Linked DNA regions of Homo sapiens: region 1 is linked to region 2. The links are contacts of gene promoters, found by promoter capture Hi-C in blood cells and fetal thymus (Javierre and others, 2016). All regions are on one chromosome and are shown on one strand. Each heading gives the region's core, a stretch centred on a gene start or on the middle of the fragment in contact. The rest is flanking DNA. Distances are from core to core; before and after follow the strand shown. Region 1 overlaps SMYD2 (SET and MYND domain containing 2). Region 2 holds the start of PTPN14 (protein tyrosine phosphatase non-receptor type 14).

Region 1 (2,999 bases), core at 407-2,906, 220 kb after region 2:
ACACCACATTGTGGGTGGTCAGTACGCCTTTACACATTTACTAGGAGACATTCCTCCTTTGGTTTTCAGAATCTTAAATCCATCCTTCTCCTGCTCCCTCTTTCCAACTTCCCACCTTGCCTTGTTGGCGAGGGATAATAAGCTATCAGGGCAGTTGTAAAGGATATATTTATAGTGCTTGGCCCTCCGGAACTCTTCAATGACGTTGCGTGCATATCTGACCATGTCTCGGATGGCTTCTGCCTTTGGGGGATCGCTGAGCTTCCGGATTTCCACCTTGGCCTTATCCTGAAGGAAACGTCCACAAGGGCAAGGCGTTACCGCCCATGGAAACCACACTGATAGGGAAACCTCTCATATAATACACATTCCCACACAGCGGTCGACACTGGCCCATTCCAAGGTTACAAAAGAATGAAAGGAAATCAGGCAATGCATCTGAAGAAATTCAGTACTCCATTACCTTTTTACAGAAACAAAACAAAAAGATTAATTTTCTAGATACTCCTTATCTAAAATGTGTTGGCTATGGGCAGATATATGTGTTTACACATCTACGAATCAAGAGACTAGAATAAGGAAGGATGGCATTGACGGAACAATTTGGAAAATGCCAGGGAAACTTCCACATATTCTGGTGAACAGGTTGGAAAGCCTAGAGATTATACTCATGTGCTTTTCCCCCCTCCTCCTTTGAGCAGTTGTTTCTTTTCAAGAAAGAGCAGTTCGGCAGACCTTTCTCCTGTTTGTACAGTGTAATGGAAATGTTTTCTTTAGCTACTAGGAGCAGGTCTGAACAGAGACCTGGTCTAACTAGATTCCCTTTGGCTGTCTTTGTAAGGAGGGTTTAAAGGGTCAAAAAGATCCTAGAGGAGATCCGCCAAGTCAGACAAGCTCTTCAGCAGAGAGGTCCTGAGATCAGAGTGCAGTCAGCGCTCTTGCCCAATGAACAACCTTACCTTGTCCTTGGTGGTACACTCCTGGCACTCACAGGTAAAGAAATAAGAATCTCTTAACCGGTCATTTCTATCTTCCGTTGGGTACAGGAGATCAATATAGCTGGTAAAAACCTACGGGGTCCAAAAAGATAAAGCTTCAGTCTGCTACAGGTAAACTCAATCCTTGTCATTCCCGTGCCTTTGCAGTCACCTGCAGGGCCCATGCAGAGGATAAGGCGGGCTGCAGCGGAGGAATGCGCTGTTTACTTTAAGGCACGGAATTCCTGAACTGAGCAGCCACCTGACGTTGGCTTTCTCTGGAAGGTGTTCACTAATCCACAGCTGAACTGGGAGCTGAAGCCAAGGTGCAGGTTAGTGGAAAGAGTCTGTAGAATCAAGGAGTCCTTAAAACAGTGTCCTGGAGGGTTCAGAGGATCCCTGCCTCCCTCAGCTGCCTCTGCCTGGCCTTCATGTAGTTTCATGTTTCACCACCTGAGACGGCGCAAATGCTTCGTTGCCGTCATCACTGGATGCTGCGTGCAGGGGAGGGCATGAGCACGCACACACCACACACATGCAGCTAAGCTCCCCTTCTCCTCACATCAACTGGCAATGGAGCAAGAGGCTCCACTCAGTGGGCTGGGACCCACAGCTCTGGGTGGCCAGCGGAGGGTGAACACATCTTCTAGGACACCAGAATGCTGCGGCCTGGCCCAGCGGGCAGCTCCTGATCCTGCAGGGCAGCGAGCTTGGAAAGTCCTTACCTTTGGTTCATGGGGCTCCACCGTCCTTGCCTTTTCCTAATGGGGTCTGTAACTAAGGCTTGGAGCATATGGAGGAGACCAGCATTTAGATGTCCATTATCTACTCACTGGGACAGCACTGGCTACTCATCCCACACAATCAGGCAAATGTCTGACTGAACAGATGGATCTCATGAAGCCGCTAGCGTGCCAGTGACCACGGGCACCACCAGGCAGGCAGGGGAGGACACGCACAGGGCTGGGTGCTGCAGGGGCAGCTAAGCTCTCCCCAGCCCATGGGGAGGTACTGGACACGTTGCAGCTCACCCCGAAACCCTGGGGAATGGGGTTTCTCCTTCTCTGAAGGGTAAGTAATCCCCAAAGCACTGACTTCCCAAAAATGAGGTTACTGCGTTTCAGATCTGGGAGAACATAAGGGCAAAAGGAAACTGCAGCCACCCCTGCCCTGCCTCACACCACAAGAGCCTGCCAACAATCTCTGTAATGACTGACTCACAGTGCAACATGCGGAAGCTTCCAGAAGATGGCGACAAAGGCCACTCCAGTACCACTGCTCCCAGCCAGACTGAGCCAGCTTAGGTGACAACCTGCTCATCTCTGCAGTCAGCCCACAGGTGCACTGGAGCCTGGGTGACTGCATTCTGACTGGCTGCAATTATCTGTTTCAAGAAAGGCTTCAGAGCAGTCTCCATAAGACCTTTGGAAACTCAGACACCCCAGCCGAAAGGGGACACACCCTCATCGTAATGGATTTAGCTGAAGGTAGAAGGGCCAACCTGCCTGCATCTTGGGCTTCAGCTCCCAGTGCAGCTGTGGATTAGTGAGTGCCTTCCAGAGAAAGCAAAGCACTTGTCATTCAGCACGCTGACAGTTATATTTTACACTTCACACTTCAAATACCCAGGCATGCACCGTAAAATAGCATTACAAATTGCTAAACTGAAATTAACCCAAGTGTGATTACAAGTTCCTAAAAACTCATGTGTCTTGCTGGGAATTTACTTAAGAACACAGAGCATACTACAGCAATCCATCAGGCCAGCCCTTCCCAGGTGAGACGTCTCATGAGGTAGTCAGGAATCACACATGGGAAGGGAACAGGGAATCGCTGAGCAGGTGATGGGAAGACTGGTTCTCTCCACGTCCTGAAGCTGAGGAGGGAAACTAAGGTGCCCCTTGGCCACAGACTGCCTTGACTTCTCCTATTACTGCATATACCTGGACTTTTGATTTAGATTCCTAAAAAGTGAACTGCGACCTGAAGTTCAGATGTGGAACTGATAGAACACGAAATTCT
Region 2 (2,855 bases), core at 233-2,732:
CCGCCTCCCAAGTTCAAGCAATTAACCTGCCTCAGCCCCAGAGTAGCTGGGACTACAGGCGCACGCCGCCACCCCCGAAACATTTTTTGAATTTTAGTAGAGACGGGGTTTCACCGTGTTGCCCGGGCTGGTGTCGAACTTCTGAGCTCAGCCAATCCCCCAGCTTTGGCTTCCCAAAGTGCTGGGATTACAGGTGTGAGCCACCGCGCTTTTTGGTTTCCAATTCTCTTCCCCAAGAGGCCAGGAATTTTTGCATGAGTTGCCGGACACTGAAGTGATTTGGGACAATACATTGTGTGCCAACGACTTCAAGGTCCCTTTTCAACAAAGGACTGGAATCTTACCGAGATAAATCCCAAGACATGTTTGTAGCAATGCAAAGGACCACAGAAATCTAGACAAATTATTTAATTTTGCAGCTACAGAAACCTAGGATCTCAGGGGCTGGGATACTCCTCAGTTATCCAATCGGGCAGGGCCTAAAACCCAGGTTCAGTCGCCTGGCTCCGAGCTTTTTCCATCATACCAGCTGCGTCTCATTAACTCCACCTCCGAAAGTGCTAAGGAAGTTCCCTCCCAGTGCCTACCCAGGCAGGGTGGGGCGATTCTGTGGCATGGAACAAACCGGGAAAACGACATTTTCCAACTCTCAGCACACAGGCTGCTTTTTATCATTCCTACGGGGCGGGAGGGGGCAGGGAGAGAAGGCTAAGACACCGGGTCCAGTACCCAGAGATTCTAGGGAGAGATCTCTGAGATTGCCTACTTGGTGAGGCCACCTTACTTTCTCCTGGTCTGTTTTCCCCTGTGGGGTGGCTGCATGAAACGTCCTGCTTGGAGGGTTCCCCAATATAAGGTGGACTATTCTGAATGTAGGTCGGGGTGAGCAAGTTCCTGCCGCCGCCCCGTCTCTGCGGTCCTCGGAAGTCTAGGTGGGCTCTTCCTTGCCTTGCCTCTTTCTCCCCAACGGCGGGAGCAGCCCAGGGTTGGGGTGGCTGCGGTCGCCTTGCTCTCTCCACTTCCACGTCTCTTACTCCAGGGAGTTTCATCCGGTCCTCCGTCCTCGGCCCCCACCTTTTAAAACATTTTCCAAAACTACCCCATTAAAAGTGTGCGACTTCTCCGGGCCTGCAGAAGGAGCTCCTGCAGCCCGGCATTCCTCGGATTCCAGCGCTGTGACGTCCCCAAGGACGGCGCGCCTCCAGCTCGGGAGCTCGGGAGCTGGGGCTCCACGTTTCAGCGCGCGCCCGCGGCGCCCCCGGCGCGCGCCCTCCCGGGCCGCATTCCTCCCCGCCCCCGGCCGCGCGCCCAGCGCTCCCTCCGCCTCCCGGCCCCCAGGGCCGCGGAGCCCGGCTCTGGGGTGGGGGAGCCGTGGCCGCCGGCGCCTGCTCCGTCCCCTCCCACTCGCACGGCCCCTTCCTCCCTCCTCTCCCGGCCGCTCGCATTTCCTGCCGCTCTGGCTCTCCCGGCCCCTCAAAGTTCTTTCCAACTTTTTCTCGGCGGAGTGAGCGCAGCGGGCGCAGACTCGGGGGCAGGTTGCTGTGCTTCTCCGGGCTCAGCCGCCTGCTCTCCTGGCTCAGGTCCTCGGGGAGCCCTAGACAGACATCAAGTGGCCACTGGCGCTCCTTCCCCTCCCAGCTGAGCCATCCTCCCCGGCCTCCTCGGGCGGGACAGCCCCGTGCTTAGGTTTTTCTCCTTTTCTCCCCCGGTGCGCCTCTGCTCGGACTCTCGCGCCGGGATCGCGGCGGAAACCTCCCTCCCCTTTCGCCTCCTGCGGCTCCTTCCCTTCGCCCCTCCTCCGCCAGTCACTGGAATCAATTCCGTGGGGAATCGGCTCCGCCGCCGCGAAGGACAGCCTTTCCGCGCGGGACTCCGGGGCGCCACGGGGGCCATGTAAGCAGGTAAGCCCCGTCCAAGCCGGGAGTTGGGCCCGAGGTTGGAGGCCGCCTTGGCGCTCCGGGCGCCCTGCAGATGACTTGGGCAGACGCTGGCAACGCCAACTTGCGATTGGCGCCCCGGGACGCCTGGCAGGGCAGCCTGGGGCGCGGGGTGGCCGGGCCGCAGGGGTGTTATCTCGCGGTGGGAGCTGCCCGCGGTGAGGCGCAAAGCTGGTCCCGGGAGCGAGCTGGAAGGTGAGCGCAGTCTGGGGAGTTTGTGGTTAAACCCACACCCTGGTCCCCTCTCTCCATTCCCTTCTGCGTTTTGGGAACGAGAGAGGGCCTCGGAAGGGCAACTAGAGATACCTAGACCTTGGGGGCTAGAGGATGAAAGACGAACGACGTCGCGGTCGCTGCAGCGGTAGGGGGATGCAGCTGCCCGACGCTCCCAATCACACCCCACCACCACCGGGAAGGAATCTTGAGGGGAGCGGAGTTTTCCTGCCCTCTCACTAGGCCCCAGTGGTGCCACCGAACTCCTGGGCGTCGAGGCTCCTACTTGGGTGGTCGAGCTGGCTCGTAGAAAAAAAGCTGTGGCCAAACAATTTCAGATCAGGTCTTCACCTCAAACTTCCAAAGTTGTAGGTATTAACAGCCTCTCCTTCCCCACGTGACCCCCAGATCTCAGGTTTGAATACTTGTAAATGGGGTTTACACCTTTTCGTTTGGAGAGAGCAGTGAGGTAACGCTGCCCCTATCTCCCTTTCCCTCTCACTTCCTTGGGTTCTTGTTCTCCAACCTTCTCATCCCCACCTACAATTTCAGAAATTGTGGGGTTTCCGCTTAAGTCTAGGGACTGGCTGTCGCAGGTTCTTTGTGAAGGTGAGGAATCTCTAGACTGCAGGTGCGGGCAGTTACAGAGTTTCCACCAATGTGTTAACTTCTTGAAATGGATTAGTTTACTCATTCATCCAACAA

What was found. The method cuts DNA at HindIII sites, captures the fragments that hold promoters and counts their contacts. A CHiCAGO score of 5 or more calls a contact.
Region 1: a fragment that was not itself captured here is called in contact with the fragment with the promoter of PTPN14 in region 2 in 1 of 17 cell types (endothelial precursors); the score reaches 5.0 in endothelial precursors.

What each region holds. Positions count from the first base shown.
Region 1 is chr1:214,328,239-214,331,237 of GRCh38, reverse strand. It overlaps SMYD2 (SET and MYND domain containing 2), which reads right to left. Exons shown (of 12, transcript NM_020197.3): 8 at 960-1,070; 9 at 168-288. Among named protein-coding and RNA genes, the nearest start is that of SMYD2, 49 kb to the right of the region's middle. RefSeq lists an enhancer at 2,082-2,171 and a silencer at 2,098-2,392. The HindIII fragment of the contact is 1,122 bases long and covers 1,096-2,217 here.
Region 2 is chr1:214,550,229-214,553,083 of GRCh38, reverse strand. It overlaps PTPN14 (protein tyrosine phosphatase non-receptor type 14), which reads left to right and starts at 1,482. Exons shown (of 19, transcript NM_005401.5): 1 at 1,482-1,901. RefSeq lists enhancers at 356-1,176, 1,177-1,997, 1,998-2,819. The HindIII fragment of the contact is 5,292 bases long and covers 1-2,855 here.